Regions from separate parts of the Homo sapiens genome. Here regions 2, 3, 4, 5, 6 and 7 are each linked to region 1. Evidence: promoter capture Hi-C in human tissues and cell types (Jung and others, 2019). All regions are on one chromosome and are shown on one strand. The core of a region is centred on a gene start or on the middle of the fragment in contact, and the rest is flanking DNA. Distances in the headings are between cores, read along the strand shown.

The links. The method cuts DNA at HindIII sites, captures the fragments that hold promoters and counts their contacts. A contact is called where the count stands out against the background at its distance.
Region 2: a contact is called between a fragment that was not itself captured here and the fragment with the promoter of SALL1 in region 1, in 4 of the 25 tissues and cell types used here (dorsolateral prefrontal cortex, heart left ventricle, mesendoderm cells and 1 more).
Region 3: a contact is called between a fragment that was not itself captured here and the fragment with the promoter of SALL1 in region 1, in 4 of the 25 tissues and cell types used here (H1 embryonic stem cells, dorsolateral prefrontal cortex, heart left ventricle and 1 more).
Region 4: a fragment that was not itself captured here is called in contact with the fragment with the promoter of SALL1 in region 1 in 6 of the 25 tissues and cell types used here (aorta, bladder, dorsolateral prefrontal cortex and 3 more).
Region 5: a contact is called between a fragment that was not itself captured here and the fragment with the promoter of SALL1 in region 1, in 5 of the 25 tissues and cell types used here (IMR-90 fibroblasts, heart left ventricle, hippocampus and 2 more).
Region 6: a fragment that was not itself captured here is called in contact with the fragment with the promoter of SALL1 in region 1 in 2 of the 25 tissues and cell types used here (dorsolateral prefrontal cortex and mesendoderm cells).
Region 7: a contact is called between a fragment that was not itself captured here and the fragment with the promoter of SALL1 in region 1, in 3 of the 25 tissues and cell types used here (H1 embryonic stem cells, mesendoderm cells and pancreas).

What each region holds. Positions count from the first base shown.
Region 1 is chr16:51,149,891-51,152,583 of GRCh38, forward strand. It overlaps SALL1 (spalt like transcription factor 1), which reads right to left and starts at 1,380. Exons shown (of 3, transcript NM_002968.3): 1 at 1,276-1,380. The coding sequence starts at 1,351. RefSeq lists an enhancer at 577-1,077. The HindIII fragment of the contact is 9,229 bases long and covers 1-2,693 here.
Region 2 is chr16:51,631,685-51,634,377 of GRCh38, forward strand. It overlaps LOC107984892 (a long non-coding RNA gene), which reads right to left and starts at 2,429. Exons shown (of 3, transcript XR_001752181.1): 1 at 2,274-2,429. The HindIII fragment of the contact is 6,440 bases long and covers 1-2,693 here.
Region 3 is chr16:51,612,181-51,614,873 of GRCh38, forward strand. No RefSeq gene overlaps it. Among named protein-coding and RNA genes, the nearest start is that of HNRNPA1L3, 32 kb to the right of the region's middle. The HindIII fragment of the contact is 3,771 bases long and covers 1-2,693 here.
Region 4 is chr16:51,575,726-51,578,418 of GRCh38, forward strand. No RefSeq gene overlaps it. Among named protein-coding and RNA genes, the nearest start is that of HNRNPA1L3, 69 kb to the right of the region's middle. RefSeq lists an enhancer at 1,415-2,614. The HindIII fragment of the contact is 6,997 bases long and covers 1-2,693 here.
Region 5 is chr16:51,558,401-51,561,093 of GRCh38, forward strand. No RefSeq gene overlaps it. Among named protein-coding and RNA genes, the nearest start is that of HNRNPA1L3, 86 kb to the right of the region's middle. The HindIII fragment of the contact is 4,980 bases long and covers 1-2,693 here.
Region 6 is chr16:51,510,262-51,512,954 of GRCh38, forward strand. All of the region lies in intron 1 of LOC102723323 (a long non-coding RNA gene), which reads right to left. Among named protein-coding and RNA genes, the nearest start is that of HNRNPA1L3, 130 kb to the right of the region's middle. The HindIII fragment of the contact is 4,324 bases long and covers 1-2,693 here.
Region 7 is chr16:51,491,043-51,493,735 of GRCh38, forward strand. All of the region lies in intron 2 of LOC102723323 (a long non-coding RNA gene), which reads right to left. Among named protein-coding and RNA genes, the nearest start is that of HNRNPA1L3, 150 kb to the right of the region's middle. The HindIII fragment of the contact is 5,159 bases long and covers 1-2,693 here.

The sequences.
Region 1 (2,693 bases), core at 130-2,629:
CACCCCAAAATGCCGCCTAGGGCGTGGGCATCCCGAGTGGCATCCGGAGCCGCTGAGACCCCGCCGAGATTGCTCCTTGTGCGTCCTCCCACAGCCGAGAGGCCAGCATCGTGCCGGGACGACCCGGGGACCCGAGTCCGGGCGCCGCTACACCGCCTCGGGCGCTAGGCCTGGGAGCTTTGAGGCCGGTACCGTGAAACACCTTTAGGAGCAAGGAGGGATTCCAGGTGTCCTCCCTTTGTACCCCAACTCCCTGCCCGGATCTCTTCCACTCTCTGCCATAGCCCCCACACACAAACTTTGTTCTGGACTTGTTCAGCCCCTTCGGGACCCACAGTTGTCGCCTCCATCGGAGAAAACAAGTGCCCCTGTTTCAGGGGGGATTCCACTCTGGCTGGCCACCCGCAAACCTGGAAAACTATTCTATGACTTCTTCCCTGACCCCCCTGGAAGTAGGGAGCACCACGATCCGCAGAGGGCGCATACCGACCAGAAAGATTTTGGGGGGCAGAGGGTGCAAGTGTTGTGGGAAGAGATGCGGAGATAAATTTTGCGAGCCAGACCCCGACACTTTCCCCGTCCGTTTGCACCGTCTCCGGAACAACTGGCGGCCAGCAGCACTCTCCACCCCGGCCGCAACCCCAGCGGGTCAGGCGCTGGCGCCCCGACACCAGTCCCCATCTTCTTGCAGCTCTGAACCTCCAAAGACACCCGGTTCTGCCTCGCAGGCCGAGGGGGAGTGTGCGTGGGGGCAGGGGGGCGCAGCGAACTCCCCCACGCTCGGAGTTCAGCCCAGCGCCCGAAGTAAACTTCCTTACCGCTGGCAGCAAGGCCGGGCGGCGGAGGCCGGGCCGGGTGCCCTGGGGCCGGCGCCGGGAGCGCTAGGGGCCCCGTGCGGTCAGGCCGGGGCGACCTCCACCCGCACCCACGCCTCATGGGGCTCCCGGGTCTTGGCCGCGGCTGGGATCCCCGGAAAAGCAGGGACGGAGAAGCCAGGCCGGCATGCCCGCCCTCCTTCCCCCGGGAGGACCCAACAACTCCGGAAAGATCCTGCCGGGAGATGTGCTCGCTTTCCCCGGGGCAGCGGGGGAAAGCCCAGCAAAGGCACATTGAAAATTAAAAAGAAAAAAAAAATTACGCCGAGTGGAAGAAGCAATCGGGGCCGCGGCGGCGGTGAGGTAGGGGGCGCGGGGGCCAGCCGCGTGTGAGTGGGTCCGAGTGTGCGTGAGTGTGAGTGCGTGTGTGTGTGTCCACGGCGCGGGCCGGAGCACTCACCATCTCGCCGGGGGAGCGAGGCCACTTCGGGGTCGGATTGGAAATGTTGAGGCTTCGCTTGCTTCCTCCGCGACATGCTGGCTCAAACATCAGCTGGGGCAGAATAAAAAATTACTAAAAAAAAATCTTCTCAAAATTACGGAAATCGAGCGGCGGCGGCGGCGGCGGCTCCCCCCGCCCGCCGGCCCGCCCGCCCCCTCCCCGGCTCCCCGGCCCCGGGCGCAGCGCGCATGTGTCCTGCTATAATTATGATTATCAATAATGCATTGCGATTAATCATAGAGGGGCTCTTTGAAAGGCGATTGGCACCGGGCCAGCGCTATTCAAACCCGCTCGCCTTAATCAATTAGTTCGTGATTTGCTGCAGACCCCTGTCTCTCCGCGCGCTGGCCCAATAAGCCGGCCGCGGGGCTGGCTCTGCGCGCCGCGCCGCCCGACACTGGGTTAACCCTCTTTGCGACCGCCCGGGACTCCGCGGCCCGGCCGCCGGGGGCCGGCCTCCTCTCCACTGCGGGCCCGGCGCCCCGGCAGGCGCCCCCCGCTCTCTCCCTCTCCCCTCCCTCTTCCCTCCCTCCTTCGCCCCCCCCCACAATCCCGGGCTGGGCCGACCCAAATTAGCATGCCCTCCCCGGAATTGAGCCGCCCCGGGTGGGGGGTGGGGCCGGGCGGCGAGGGCTGGGGACCCGGGCTGCCGGCGCGCTGCGAACTTCCCAACTCGGGGGCGAGGCGCGCCGGCCCGCGGGGGGAGGGAGTCCCGCGGCGGGATCAGGGGGGAGGGCGTCCCGTTTCGTGAGTGTTTCTTCGTTTCTTTAAGAGCTACCAGAAAGCAGCCCACCCCCACCCCCATTAAAAAAAAAAATAAGCGAGTGGGGAAGAGCCAGCCCCACGCCGGTCCGCCTCCCGCCCACGGCTCGGCCTCCCTCCCGCCTGGCTCGGCGCTCCTCCGCCCCGAGTTCTCCATCCCCTGGATCCCGGGCTCGCGGGGGCGCGGAGAAGAGGATCCAGGAAAGGTTTGGGAACCTGATGGGTTTGTGGCTGGGGGGAGGGGCAGTTCTCCCGCCACCCCATCCCCTCCCCGCCAGGGGCACTGATCCTCCAGCTTCTTGCTTGCTCCCTCGCTCCCTTTCTCTACCTCGGACATTCCCAGGACAATTAGGGCTGAAGTTTTCGGGAGAAGCAGCCCCGAGCCCGTGGGATAAGGGGGCGGCCCGGCTCCGCCCAGGACCCCTCCCGGACCTCCCCCCCGGCTGCCCCGGTTGGCTGCAGGGCGCGTCACTCCGCGGGGAGGCGGCGGCAGCGGTGGCGCCGCAGAGCCCCGGGCGGGCGGAGAGCGGGGACCGGCCTGGGCTCCGAGTTCAGCTCCGGCCGGGGGGAGGGGAGGGGCTGCGGCTCACACTGAGCGCAGCAGCGAGCACCGG
Region 2 (2,693 bases), core at 91-2,590, 480 kb after region 1:
GCATGGTAAAATGGTACAATACACGTAATATAAAGTTTACTATTTTAAGCATTTTTAAGTGTAAAATTCAGTGGCAGTAAGTACATTTACAAAGTTGTGCAGTCATCACCATTATCCATTTCCAGAACTTTATTATCATCCCTAACAGAAATTCTGCACCCATTAAACAATAACTCTCTATGCACTTGCCCTCGGCCCCTGATAACTTCCATTCTGCTTTCCATCTCTATGAATTTGCCTGTTCTAGATGCATCAGACCAGTAGGATCATACATGTGGCCTTTTGTGCTGGCTTCTTTCACTTAGCATCATGTTTTCAAGATTCATTCATGTTGTAGCTGGATGAGGACTGTATCCTTTTTTAAGACTGAATACTGTTCCATTATGTTTCTGTATCATTGGGTATATGTACACCACTGGGTATTCATTTTTAGCCAAGGCTGCATTGTGTGGGATATGATTCTTCAGGTTCACTCAACTACACGGTATCCATGTGGGAGCCACAGGCCAAGGCCTTTGTGCTTAGAGGGAAGTTAAAGGCAAGGAAGAAGTCCTCTGGTTCTGGACATATGCACCTTCATCCACCTTTGGATAAAATCAAGTGGTCCAAGCAATTTTTGGATCATACACTTACTTCTGTGTATGTTTGTAATGTCTTAGGGAGTGTATTAGTCCATTATCACACTGCTATAAAGAACTACCTGAGACCAGGAAATTTATGAAGAAAAGAGGTTTAATTGACCCACAGTTCTGCAAGGCTGGGGAGGCCTCAGGATATGTATAATCATGGCAGAAGGCAAAGAGGAAGCAAGGCACGTCTTTCCATGGAAGAGCAAGAGAGAGAGAGAGAGAGAGAGCAAAGGGGGAAGTGACACACTTTTAAACCATAGGATCTCATGAGAATCACTTACTATCACAAGAACAGCAAGGGGGAAATCCGCCCCCATGATCCAATCACCTCCCACCAAGCCCCTCCTCTGACAGGCAAGAATTACAACTTGACATGAGATTTGAGTGGGGGCACAGAGCTAAACCATATCAGGGAGCAAGCAAGTAATGGAACTTTTTAAGCATTTTCCTAAGTTTAGAGAAAATCTAGGAATCCTAGAGATAAAAGCTTTCTTCACAGAGAAATATCTATAAGACATTTCAAATAGAGATGACTCCATCAATTTCCTCCACCTAAGCTCTTTGAGTGTATGTAAGAAAATATATTCCTCTGCATTGGTAGTGACTATATATACATTGGATATATGTTATCAAATTGTGGTACTGTGATTAAAGTAATCTAAACTAGAAAAGTGTTAACCAAAAGCAACGTTCTTTAAACAATGTTTATTGAGTACATTAGTCCCATGCTAGGCTAATGTACAGAAAATATGGATATGGACATGGTATATTTCTTTTTTTCTTTTCTTTTTTTTTTTTTTTGAGACAGAGCCTTGCTCTGTCACCCAGGCTGGAGTGCAGTGGCATGATCTCGGCTCACTGCAAGCTCCGCCTCCCAGGTTCGCCCCATTCTCCTGCCTCAGCCTCTGGAGCAGCTGGGACTACAAGTGCCCACCACCACGCCCAGCTAACTTTTTGTATTTTTAGTAGAGACGGGGTTTCATCGTGTTAGCCAGGATGGTCTCGATCTCCTGACCTCGTGATCCACCCGCCTCGGCCTCCCAGAGTGCTGGGATTACAGGTATGAGCCACTGCGCCTGGCCTGGACATGGTATATTTCATGACATCAAGAAACGTTAATTCTTGTGCCTCAATTTCCAAACTGTGCACCAAGGCACCCAGTATGCTGCAGTGAATTCACACGAGGACTGTCTGATGTTTTAAATTTTTGAGGAAAACACAGTAACATTTGTCAGACACTGTGCAAACTACTAGCTTGAGGTAGTTTTAACTTATTTTTAACATTAGATCACAGTATATTTTTCTGGATGATAGCCTATCTTTAGGCCAGGTGCGGTGGCTTAAGCCTGTAATCCCAGCACTTTGGGAGGCTGAGGTGGGTGGATCACGACGTCAGGAGTTCAAGACTAGCCTGGCCAACATGGTGAAACCCCGTCTCTACTAAAAATACAAAAATTAGCCAGATATGGTGGTAGTAGCCTGTAATCTCAGCTACTCAGAAGGCTGAGGCAGAGAATTGCTTGAACCTGGGAGGTAGAGGTTGCCGTGAGCTGAGATCACGCCACTGCACTCCAGCCTGGGAGACAGAGCGAGACTCCATCTCAAATAAATAAATAAATAAATAAATAAAATAAGATAGTTTACCTTTGTGAGGCTCGGTTTTCAGAGGTTGTGTTAAAAAGCAAGAACCATGTGAAGATCAGTGTGGAACAGGAAATGGTGGTGGTGTCCAATCTGATGTTAAGACTTGACACATTGCAGACATCTCATTAGTAATTCTGAATATTGGAGAATAAAATAAACAGATTTTTTTCTTACAAATGTGTAATTTTAAAAAATGCCCATTAAGTTTTTTGGACGTTCATACTTGTTGAGTTGTTTGGCCCTGACTACTTACTAAAGGGAACTGATGGGTAATTCTTTTGAACTAGGAGCACTATGAAGAAATTACTGAGCCACTTAGGGCACTATGAATTGAGAAAGTTGTTGAACCTCTGATCTTGTGAATCAAGCATGCTACTCATGTTGAATATGAACACTTTTTAAATTAAACAAAAGCAAAGA
Region 3 (2,693 bases), core at 132-2,631, 460 kb after region 1:
TGTAGTAAATTACTTTTCCTTTTCACCAGGGAATTCCAGGTGTTTTCTCAGAAAGTTGGCTTTTTCTGTGCCTCACTCTGTCCCATAGGCCAGAGTACAGTGGCATGATCATAGCTGACTGCAGCCTCAAACTCCTTGGCTCAAGCAATCCTCCTGCCTCAGCCTCCTAAAGTGCTAGGGTTACAGACATGAGTCACCACACCTGGCCATTCTCACAAAGTTTTAAACAGTTTCCATCTCTCCTACTTCCTAATTTGGCAATGGTGCTGTGTCATGTGTTCACATTTATTTATTTTGTCAATACATTCCCTGAGCCATTGAACCATTTTTTCCATCCTGTTCCATCATTGTGGACACTCTTGTACCTGAGTATCACACCTCACAGTAAGAGCTACTGTCTGTAGAGTACTTTCAGGTGCTACGTTTAGACACATTATGTGCCTTTTCATTAGGACATCAGGGCAAGCCTTCAAAGTAACCTTTAATAACAAGTTGTATGAATGAGGAACTAAGCATAGGAAACAACAGATCACATGACCAGGGCCATGCAACTAATAATGGACAGAAGAGGTAAATGGGCCTCGAACTTTCTAATTCCAAAGAATTTCTACTCTTCTATGCTGCCTCTTAGCTTCTACTCTTATTTCTATTTTCTGCAGACCACCTCTTCTCTTAACACCCTGACTTTTTTGTTCAGCTCCCTTTTCCCCTGCCTGGTGTGAAATAGCTACCTATAACTTTTCAGCTGAAAACTCTCTGAAGGCAAAGTGTTCCTGTGCTTCTCAAGATACATTGCCAATCATTTTTGCTAGCTCGGGCTTCTCTCCTCAGCCTGTAACATGATTCAATTTGTTCGCAGTGTTCCCTCTGTAATAGTTAATAGCATTTATTGAGTTCTTCCCATGCGCCAGACATTCTGCTAAATGTTCTCCATGAATTATCTGAATGTAGCCTTAAAACCACTCTGTGGGGGTAATCACCATGATCATCATCTCCACTTTATAGGTGGAAAAACTGAAGCTTCATTATCCTGCCCAAGGAGACCAGCTTGTCAGTCATCAGCTGATCTTGTAATCCAGGCCTTCCATCTTCAAAGCTGCTCCTTCTCATGGTTTTGATACTCTGCTGGGGGCGCACTGTGAGGGTGGAAGAATCACCCACATGGAGTGAGAAGTGCCTGCTAGTGCTGGCAGTTCTAAACCAAATGTAGTTTCTTTCCCTTATTTTTCCCCCAAGTACTTCAAACAAATTCCGATGAAGAGGGATTCCAATCTAGCACCACGTGGCCTCTTGTTTTCATATGTGATTGAATGTTCAAATTTGTTCAAAATTCTTTTTATGGAAAACTGTTTTCGAATAGTATAATTTTCAAAAGTTCTCAATGGAGTGGGGAAATTGGATCGGCACATCACCTGCATTTATTTTCTTTTCCCAGGCAATTTTGAAAGGACTGTAAAAGATCTTTTTTTTTAAAAAAAAAGTTAATCTTCAAAATTCTTCTGGGACATATAATCCTGAAGTGAGCTTAACTGCAACCAATACTGAGTTTTCATTTTTTCACAAGCAAACAAAAACAACCACCAAAAAGATAATTTACCAGTGTAAATTCCTTTCTGTTGATCTCTTTTTTATATAAACATATTTTTGGATGTTTTGCTTTAGTCATATGAAGTTTGGAGATCTAAGTTTTGAAGGGATGTGGATCTTTTTACACACCATAAGAAGATTATAGAGAACGGGGTTTGATAATACCGCCTAATTTGCACTAACCTGTAGTGTCATTTTAAGTTTGTTGCATTTTTTGGGAGTGTGCTTAAATAAGGCACCCCCCAGAGCCCTGCTTGAAAGTATTAATATATCTGAATATAAGAGCAAATCTAATTTCTTAAATTTCTTTAAAAAAAACTGAAGCTGTCAAATGAGCACATTAATCAACCAACTTCCAAATTATCACATTTTAAAGGTGTCTTGAAAGCTTAAGCAACCTCTAGTATAAATATTACATAGGTATTTCTTATTAATTTAAACGAGCAAATTTGATAAGATGCAAAATTTCGTGAGCTTTAATTTTTGTCTTCTAGTGACTGACAAAGAGAAAACTAACTAGCCGCTTTGTAATCACGCATTGCTATTGCATTCTTACAAAACTTGATTTAGAAGCAAACAAAGCCTTGAAAATATGTTTACTTAAAAATCATCCATGGCCATTTTTCTTACAAGATTCAACCAGAATCTTGGTCAAAATGTCAAGATTTTTGTTCCTTTCTTTTTATTTTTAAAAAATTATTTATGTCCCTTATTTGACTGGAATCAGTAAAAGGTAGTAGATAGTTGTTAGGAAACACAGCCATGAAAATGAATGCTGAGCAGGCATTTGGCCCCAAAATTCTGTTATATCAGAAAAGTACCTTAAGCCAATGAAATGGCACATGAATCTCTTTCCTTTGCTCACTGATTCTTACAGCAGAAAGGAATGGCCTATCCACGAATAGTTCCTCTGTCATCTTCAAATGAGATCCTATGTTGGCCAGGAGCATTATCTGTCACCTAGGAACCTCAGTGTTCAGATCTGGAAAAAAAAAATTAATTAAGGGTCTTGATATAATACCTGCTGAAATTCTTTGGGACTTAAGCATTTTATAGGTAACGTTTTAATAAACAGGCCAAAACATAGCAAGAAGACCAGGAGGATC
Region 4 (2,693 bases), core at 146-2,645, 430 kb after region 1:
GCAAAAGGGTTGCTTGAGCCCAGGAGTTCAAGACGAGCCTGGGCAACATAGCGAGATTCCCACCTGTACTAAAGAAAAAAAATTAGCTAGTGGTGCACAATTATAGTCTCAGGTTCTTGGGAGGCTGAGGCTGGAGGATTGCTTGAGCCCAGGAGTTCAAGGTTGCAGTGAACTATGGTTACACCACTGCACTCTACTGTACTCTAGCTTGGGTGACAGAGTGAAACCTTGCCTCTCTCTAAAAAAAAAAAAAAAAAGAAAAAGAAAAAAAGAAGAAGAAAAAGAAGAGTAGAAGAAGAAAAGAAAAGCCGGGAGAGCAACCATGGTTTTAATGTAGGTGATCACTTGCTGTATAGCATGGCTTAAATATCTTGAGACAAGATGACAGAGATTCTTCAAATTTAGGCAAGGAAATCAGGACTGATGCAGTAGACACTAAGGCTTGAAGATGGCTGTAACTTGCTGAAGGCAATCTGTGCTCCGATTCTGCATGCTTTCCTATTGTGGCAGAAGATAGTCAGTGGGCAATCAGCTTCCCTGGCTCTATGCTTAATGAGACATTAACTGCAAGCAATGTAGGGTGGGCATAAAGAAAGGCTTACTTAAAATGGATAACAGAAAGATTGTCATGTTGCCCCTCAGAATGAGACATTGATTACCCTAGACCTATGGATTGAACTGGAAACTGTTCTTTTATCGAGCGAGGTGGAGAAGTAACTTGAAGCTTTGGAAATGTGGACAAGGGCCTCTTGGGATATACCTGGTTGCTTGGAGTAGATCACTACACCCCACCATGTCCCCAGAGGGGTATATAAGGCTAGGGTGCAGCATTGTTGTCTTCAGCAAAATACATGGAGGTCTGGCAGAAGCAGAGATGCTCAGTGCATCCGGTTCTGTGAAAAGTTCTAAGAATATCACACATCAGAAGGTTGTCAGCCTAGTGTGACCAGGTGTCCAAAGTCAACTCAAAGCCAGCAGATAAAGGTGAACTTTCCTGTTTTCACTCTCAGACAAAAATGCACTGTGTGCTGCTCAGAACCAGCAGAGCCATGGGCAAGATGGGCCATATCCTGTTTAATGGTGGCCGCAGATATTTCCTGGCTGAGAGCTCAGGTCAGAGTTATATACGAGCATGCGATTATACACAGTACTCATTTATACACAAGCAGATGAGACTTTCTTTTCCTTTTTTCTCTTTTTGTGCCTCTTGTAAAATGTCACTTTTGATCTGGGGTTGAAAAATTGCCGGCTTCCAAAAGTTGGCCTACTTAGTCCCCAAGGGACATTTTTAAATGTTGAGGATATGCCTGTTGAAAATATTCCCTTTGCAAAATTGGAGGAGAGCTTCCTGCAGATTTCCACCGCCTTGCAGCAGCCCCGTCTTCTCCTAATGAAGAAATCACTTTTTACAATGTTCGTTATAAAATAGGGAATGGCTTGAATTATCTCTCTCTGCAGGGAGTTTCATTTATCTGGAATATTCAACCTAATTAGCTAGCCCAACTGGTCAAGACTCAAGTTGATAGCCAGGGGCAGTCTTAATACATTGAAAAAAAAAGTATACAGTAGCTCTTTAAGCAGATCCGTAGTGAATATTTGAATGCTTAATATATTTACTTGAACAAATAAAGAATACATAAATGACAGAGTTTCTAAACTCATCACCTGGAGATTGCGAGGGGTGATATTTCAAATTAGTACGGATGCATCTAGAAAGTTAGCCAAGGCATGTCAGTGTTTCCTCTTAAATGCATTATTTCGTGTGTGTGTGTTTTAAGTGGACACAATGATGTTTGTGCTGTCTTGTGGCCCAGCAAACACAAACCAGGGTATTATCTGGTTATCATGGGTGTGAAAATTCAAGTACGGGTCAGAGACTGAGCATCGGAAACAGTGAGCTGTTTCTTTGACAAGCGTTAACCAGCTTGCCAGGCTGGGACCCAGAAGCAAATGTTTCCACTCCCTTCACCGGATAGCCTGGAAAGATAACTATGCATCAGGTAGTTACTTAAGTGGAACCACTGGTGTAGGGTTACCAGAGTCTTTTCCTTTTAGTGCCCAAGGGCAAAGAGCATTGTTAATGACGCCTACACCGGAAAGTAGGTTAAGAGGCTTGACACCGAACTGTTGGCGGTATTACAGTTTAACACTTGGCGTCCTCTGACTCAATGTGTAGATGCCAGTTCATGCTTTGTAGCTTCACAGAAAACTGAAGTTTAGACATCTGTAGGTGGAAGGAGTGGAACTGATGAATCATCTGTAGAAAAAAAAATGAAATACATCTTTGTTTCTTTGAACTCAATAATACCCGGTGCCTGAAATGTGAATGTGTTAATTACAGAGATTTCAAAGCAAAACCATAGCTTGCAAAGGGTAAGTGTGTTTTTACTCAGCATATTAACAATACCTTTAGAGTAGGTGCTGTCATCTCCTGAACAAAGGAATGTTTATGGAATTGAATGACAACAATGCATGGGAAGCCAAATCATAACAGGCACAATCATAAAATGTCTTTCTATGATTACATTTAACAGATTATTCTCTTATCTGTCCCTTTATTAAGAAGATGCCATTTTCCCATGAGAGCCAAACACTGCATCCAAAAAAAAATACAACAAACAACCCTTTCCTGAAATGCATGCATAATTTTAGACAGAAAAAAAGAGAACCTTGAATCTCATTCTTTCCTACAA
Region 5 (2,693 bases), core at 117-2,616, 410 kb after region 1:
AGGAAGAAGGCTGGCAGGAAAGAGACAGAAACATCACACCTGCAGACACCTCCCAGTCAGTAAATCAATCATGCAGAAACAAGCCACGCATAGAAGTGTGTGGAAGAAGATGGTCAAAAATGAACTCCATGTATCCCTCATTTCCCTGGGTCATCACCCAACACTCTAAAGTTCAGCAGAGACTATCCAATGACTACAAGGAAGAAAAGAAACCAGCCTGTGTGTCTGAGTCAAGAGCTTTCAATTTTCATTTTACGCACAATGTTGTGCCGTATAGGCTTATTTCTGAGTTTTTCCAATTGCATGCCTTCTGATATCTCAGGCCAGCAACTTGACTTCATATGCACATCTTCTTTCTGCTATCGGCTTATGCAAACATGATTGAAAAGCTGAGCGTGATGGTTAATTTTTATATTTCAATTTGACTGAGCCATGGGGTGCCCAGACATTTGGCCAAACATTATTGTGTGTGTCTGTGAGAGTGTTTCTGGATGAGACTGACATTTGAATCGGTAGACTGAGTAAAGCAGGTTGCCCTCCCCATTGTGGGCACATCTCATCCAGACAATTGAAAATCTGAATAGAACAAAAAAGTTGAGTAAGAGGGTACCCCTTCTGCCTGACTGCTTGAGCTGGAACTTGCGTCTTTTCCAGCTTTCAGACTCAGACTGAAATTTTGGCCCTTCTTGAATCTCAAGCTTGTCAGCTTTCAGAGTTTAGCTACATATCAGCTCTCTTGAGTCTCCGGTTTTCTGACTACAGATCTTGGAACTGATTTCTTCGCCTCCATAATAGAGTAAGCCGTGGATAGTCATAGGCTGCCTAATGAAGTTTTGGTTAATGATGTATTGCATGTACAATGGTGGTCTCATAAGATTATACGATTCTATCTTTACTGTACATTTTCCATGTTTAGATATGTTTAGACACACAAACACTTACCATTGTGTTATAACTGCCTACAGTATTCAGTACAGTCCCATGCTGTGACAGGTTCGTAGCCTGGGAGTAATAGGCCATACCATAGAGCCTAGGTGTGTCGTGGGCGACACCATCTAAGTGTGGGTGAGTGCACTCTAGGATGTTTGCACAGCCTCAAAATCACCTAATAATACATTTTTCAGAATGTATCCCCATTACTAAGTGACACATGACTGTATATACACAGTATTTCTTTTGGTTATGTTTCTTCTGAGAATTCTAATACACTCAGGGAGATCTCTCTAGAAAAGGGTCAGGGTAATGGTAACAATGGTGCTGAGATCCAAGAAGTATTTGAAATTAACAAATATAGGAAGCTTGGAAGGAAGACAGTCCCCAGCAGAGGCAATGGCCAAGGTAAAGTCTTCAAGAGTGGAGGGAGGCTGGTGGAGGGAGGGACTGACAGGTCAGTGTGGCCTGAGTGAGGAGTAGAAGGGGACACTGGCATGAGATTGGCTGGAGATTCTGCATGCACCAGGCCACTCCAGGCCTAGGGAGGCTGATCGTATAGTTTGTCATCTTCCCGGGACACATCTGAGGGAAGAAGGTGCTATGAAAACCAAAATAACACTTTGAAACCAGAACTATTCTGCACAAATTGAGGCCCTCCCTTTCAGGCCATTAAGAGTTTGTAATTTATTCTACAATCAATAAGGGATTCACTGAAGTGTTCTAAGAAGAATTGTCACATGACCCTATTTGCATTTTAAACTCACCGTGGCTGCCATGTGAGGAATGGATTGAAGAAGGCGAGAAAAGATAAGGGCAGACCAGTGGGGACTAAATCTATTTAAGATTGCAACAGTGAAAGCATGCCTGAGTTTCCAGCCTGCTGCTCTGAGAATTTTAGACTCAAAATTGTACCATCAACTCTTACCTGAGTTTCTAACCTGCTAGTCTGCCCTGTGGATTTCAGACTTGCCAGCCCCTACAGTCACATGAGCCGATTTCTTAAAATCTCTCTCTCTCTCTCTCTCTCTCTAAGTTTGAGTAAGTAGTGTATGTAGGTATGTATTTACTATGTATGTATGTATTGTGGAGGAGGGAAAATGGTTCCCTCTACCTTTCTAGGTTCCTTGGCTGAGCTACAACTTAAATGGACACAAGACAGATCAACAGGAGCAAAACCATATTTATTACATATGTGAGCACAGGAGTCCCGCAAATATATGAGACTCCAAGAGAGGCCAGATGATTGAAGCTTATTTAATATCCTGAGCTACAGAAAGGAATAGGGGTTTGGCTTCCGAGGGGTGGTAGAGACAAGTTTATGGAAGGGCAAGGGGAGGAAAAGTATAGTGAATAAAATTTGTCTTGTTATGCAGGTAAGTCTTTCAGGTAATAAAAGCTGTAATGGAGCTGCTCCTTCTGATACAGATACTAATGCATATTTTCCTTATAGATGTAAATTTCTTTTACCAAAAAAAACAACTTTTCAGAGCTACTCTTGCGTCTGAAGTTTTTCAGAATAACCAGCTCCAAATATGCAAAATAAATATATATTGGGGTGGCATATCTGGTCTCCTATAGTCATATTTGGGATAGTATGTCCTGAGCCCAAACATTATATACACACACACACACACACACACACACACACACAACCATATGTGTACATATCCATATTATATATAGTATGTGTGTTTTGTATATATTGCAAAAGTTATCAGTATCAAAATGGAGTCACTGATGTCAAACCCTAATAAAATGGA
Region 6 (2,693 bases), core at 136-2,635, 360 kb after region 1:
ATTAGATTTTACTTCATTGTCTCCTTTTCTATAAACTTCCCCCAGACTCTAAGAGTTTATAATTTGTGTTCTGAAGTATTTGACGTTGAACACGATGCTATAAATAATCCACCGCTCTGAGCATGTTCAATAAGACTTACAACACTATTATTATGACTACACTTAGGCATTTACAAATTTGCCTTGAAATAGAGATTTATCAGGGGTTTCAGCTGCTCAGTGATGGAACAATATTAATGTCTTCACAAGGACAAATGAGTTAATCCAATCTTTCTATATGCTTGGAGACTGGCGATCTCAGTTTGGACAGCTGGGTTTCTAGATACAGTAACTTCTCTGTTACATGGAAAGGCTGGGGGATGGGCTGTTTTCATTTTGTGTGTGTGTGTGTGTGTGTGTGTGTGTTTGTATGTTATAATTGTTATACAGGGCTTGAGGTTGCAGAGAAAAAAGCCACTGAGATAGGCTTTCCATTTAGTCTGAGGTGCAGATATTCGAAGAATATCTGCAGGAAAAGGGGCAGAAGTGTGGACCCTAAAGGAACATCATCAGCTCCGCAGTCTTGTCCACACAAAGCCGTATTTTCCTCAGTGAACTCGTTAGGGAAGGCACCCTAGTAGTTGGAGAGTGGACTTTGGAGTCAACCTCATCTGGGTTTGAATCCCAGCTCCAAGCTTAGAGGGCTTGAGCATTTACAAAAATTATGTAGGCTGGATGCAGTGGCTGGTGCCTGTAATCCCAGCATTTTGGAAACTGAAGTGGGACGATTGCTTGAGACCAAGAAGTTCAAGATCAGCCTGGGCAACATAGCAAGACCCTATCTCTATAAAACTTAAAAAAAAAATCATCCAGGTGAGTTGGTGCATGCCTGTAGTCCTACCTACTGGGAGGCTGATGCAAGAAGTTTGCTGGAGGTGAGAGGTTGGAAGCTGCAGTGACCTATGATTATGCCAATGCACACCAACCTGGGTGACACAGTGGGACCCCATTTCTAAACTAAATAAAGAAAAATAAAGAAATAAAAAATAAAAAAATTATTTGCACATTTATTTTATCCACTGGTTCACTTACGGTTTTGGGTCACATTCCATAAAAGTGGAGACTGAGAGAAGAATTAAAAAGTCCTTTTTTAATTGAGGGAGGGACTGCTCTTAGGAGAAACCTGAGAGGGAGAGAAGAACACCAGATAGGGGAGAGGCAAGAGCTGAGCAAGGATGTGCCAGGTAAGGTCTAAATTTGGCCTGATCAGTGTGGGATGCTGGAGCATGTGTCCCAACACAGGCATCCTTGCATTGTGGCAGCAAAGTGCCAGCCCTTTCTAAAAGTTGTCACATAATAGCAAACAAATGGAATCAACCTAGGTGCTCATCAATGGTGGATTGGATAAAGAAAATGTGACACATATACACCATGGAATACTATGCAGCCATAAAAAGGAATGAAATAACATCCTTTGCAGCAACATGGATGCAGCTAGAGGCTGTTATCCTAAGCAAATTAATGCAGAAACAGAAAACCAAATACCACATGTTTGCACTTGTAAGTAGGGGCTAAACACTGGGTACAAATGGACACCAAGTTAGGACAACAGATACAAGGGATTCTTTTCTTCTTTCTGTTTTTTTTTTTTTTTTTTTGAGATGGAGTCTGGCTCTGTTGCCCAGGCTGGAGGGCAGTGGCACAATCTCGGCTCACTGCAACCTCCACCTCCTGGGTTCAAGTGATTCTCCTGCCTCAGCCTCCCAAGTAGCTGGGACTACAGGCGTGTGCCACCACACCTGGCTAATTTTTTGTATTTTTAGTAGAGACAGGGTTTCACCATGTTAGCCAGGATGGTCTCGATCTCCTGACCTCGTGATCCACCACCTCAGCCTCCCAAAGGGCTGGGATTACAGGCATGAGCCACTGCGCCCGGCTGATACTAGGGATTCGAAAAGGGGGAAGGGGAGGAGGGGAAAAAGGGTTAAAAACTACACATCTGGAACTAGGTTTGCTGCTTGGGCAACAGGATCATTAGAAACCCAAACTTCAGCGACACACAACATACCCATGTAACAAACTTGCACAGGTGCTCCCTGAATCTAAAACAAAAACTTTTAAAAAAAGCAATACAAATTGTGATAAAATATACATAAGATAAAATACCATTTTAACAATTTTAAAGTGTGCAATTGACTAGTATTAGGTACATTCACAATGTTGTGCAACCAGCACCACTATCTAATTTCGGTACTTTTTCTTCACCCTAAAAGGAAACCCTGTATCCATTAGTTTTCACTCCCATTCTCTCCTCCCCTCAGCCCCTGGCAACCACTCATCTGCTTTCTGTCCCTATGGATTTGCATATGTACTCATTTCTTTTTAAGACTGAATAGTATTTCATTGCATGCATATACCACTTTTTTTTTTTTTTTTTTGAGACAGTCTCACTCTGTCTCCCAGGCTGGAGTGCAGTGGTGCGATCTCAGCTCACTGCAGCTTCCACCTCCTGGGTTCAAGTGATTCTCATGCCTCAGCCTCCTGAGTAGCTGGAATTACAGGTGTGCACCACCACACCCGGCTATTTTTGTATTTTTAGTAGAGATAGGGTTTCACCATGTTGACCAGGCTGATCTTGAACTCCTGACCTCAAGTGATCTGCCTTCCTCAGCCTCCAAAGTGTGAGGATTTTAGGTGCGAGCCACAGTGCCCGG
Region 7 (2,693 bases), core at 127-2,626, 340 kb after region 1:
TAACAACATGAGAGTCGTCCTGCAAGCTCCAGAGAAGCGGTTCTTTGCAATCTGAGAGGAGCCCAGCCACATGAGAAAAGCAAACAAACAAAAATACCTCTGTGATGCTTGGATTTTATAAAGTGCTGATATCTGATGGTTAATCTGCCTGGCCCTGCCAGAGAGGACAGTGTTAAATTGCCTTCTATTCTTGGGAAACTTAACTTGTCATTGTTAAGCCTGCCTGCATGAGAGCCTTTGAAACAAAATCTGGATGTATAGAAAAGTTGTCTAGGTTCAGGTTAGGTGAACTCTGCAGCAGTGGAAGTGGCCTGAGGTTAAGTGAAGCGTCCCCAAGCCAAGTGAGCTCTAGAGAAATCTGCTAGCTGGAAGGCACAGTCAGAAGACCCTTCAAAGTCTACAGAGGGAAACTAGGGGCATCTTTCGGACCTAAGGCCCTTCTACCTTCCATAGACTCCGGGGAGGTGGTGTGAGACAATGGTGATGCGCATAGCCTTTGAATACATTCACACTTCAGCCAGCTGGTGGTACATGAGAGAATGGCTCCATCTCTTCAGCTTCAGTTTCCACATCCATAAAATGGAAACAATTATGGGACCTGCTATCTCATTGACTGAGAGAATTCTTGCATTATACATGGGGAGTGTTCAATGAACAATAGTTGCTATTATTTTAAAAATCACTGGTCTAATAGAATGTTTACAGGGAGCCAAAAGAAACTCATAGAATTGAGACTAACCATTTCATTTTAGAGAAGGGGCAGCTGAGACTCAAAGATGTTGCCTATGATGCCCCCACACACCCCTCAAGGTCATATGGCTAGTTGGAGGCAGAGCTACCAAAAGAACACCATTCTCCTAAACTCTGTGGTCTCCTTCCCTGTTTTTTTCAATTGCCACATCAAATCGAGGTTATAGTTTGAACCTGATAAACATATTATCTGACTTTACAAGAAGTTTCTACTTTAATTTTTTTTTTTGAGACAGGGTCTTGCCCTGTCACCCAAACTGGCACAATCATAGCTCCCTGCAGCCTCAACATGCTCAGGTGATCCTACCTCAGCCTACCAAGTAGCTGGGACTACAGGCATGTGCCATCACACCCAGGAAATTTTTAAAATCTCTTTCTTTTTTCTTTTCTTTTTTTGAGACAGAGTCTTGCTCTATCACCCAGGCTGGAGTGCAGTGGCATGATCTCAGCTCACTGCAACCTCTGCTTCCCGGGTTCAAGCAATTCTCCTGCCTCAGCCTCCTGAGTAGCCAGGATTACAGGTGCCCACCATCACACCCGCCTAATTTTTGCATTTTTAGTAGAGGTTTCGCCATGTGGGCCAGGCTGGTCTCGAACTCCTGGGCTCAAGAAACCTTCCCTCCTTGGCCTTCCAAAGTCCTGGGATTGCAGGAGTGAGCCACCACACCCAGCTAAGATTGTTCTGTGTATGTTTTTTAACATGTGTCTCAAGAAAGTTGCACCAAATGAGAAACCAACAAAAAACTGAAAACGAAAATAATAACACTAAATGAAAACAACCGTCAAAAGAAGAGATCTAATTGCAAATACCAGAACCCATGTCTCATACAGAAGATCCAGCGTCTTGTCATAATCACATCGTGCATAATATCAGAGTCTTCCTTCTCTGTCTCGTGAGGTGAGTGATCCCACGTGCATTCTAATGCATGTTTTATTTCTCCATTGATTTTAATTAAAAGGATATTGTCAAGGTTGCTAGGCATAAATATTGACTGCTTTTGACACTACAGTTGTCCCAGAGGGTCAGGCTTGCTTTTTCAAGCTTCTTGAATCTCTTTCAGTTCCTTGGAGTCTCTTTTTGGTATGTTGGAAATTTCAAAAAAAATGGAACTATTAGGGCATGCCTGATAGTTTTTTTTTTTTTTTTTTTTTTTTTTTAATGCAGGTTGAAAAAGAAAAGAAAGGCCTGGTAATTTGGAATAATCATACACAAGTTAAATCTTGGGTCTTGAGTTAGCAAGAATGGTTGCATGAGTGGTAAAAATTACTGAAAATTACTTCCTATTCAATCAGTTTGGTCAGTGTATATGCTGATATATCTCCAAAATATCATATAGACATCATTAGTGCTTTTAACAAACCAAAGAGATATGTTCTTTTAAAAGAGAATTTTACTAAAAGAGATTCCTAGTGTCCCAACCCCAAACCCTTCACCCAGGCCTGAGTTCCTTTGTAATTTCTAAATGATCACAGCTCCCTTGCCTAAGTAGGCTGTCAATTCAGCACTGATGAACATTTCTATCCGGGAACTGGAAGGGCTTGAGATGGTGCTGGCATTTCAGGGTTAATTCTAGCAGAGTCTAAAGCAGCAGGGGTTTAAAGAGGCCCAACAATATATCAGGAAGAGGTGGACTGCCGAGAATAAGTGGTGTAAAATGCATTATGAACATTCTCAGCAAAGAGAAATTGTCTTTTTCTTGTTGATAGTAGAAAATCAATACAGTTGTTTTCTGTTCAGTTTTCAAGGGCACAAGTTGCTGCTACTTCAGGCTTGAGAAGTTCATAGGGTGGTTAACGAAATGTCAGCAGTGATTGAGCAGTTCAAGCAAAATTGACATCCCTCTGCCATAAGTCTACCCTAAGTGAACTGGCAGCCACGGGGGATGGCAGAGCATCCCAGGGCCACAGGGAGCAGGTGGGTTAACGCGTCAAGCTAAAAGAAT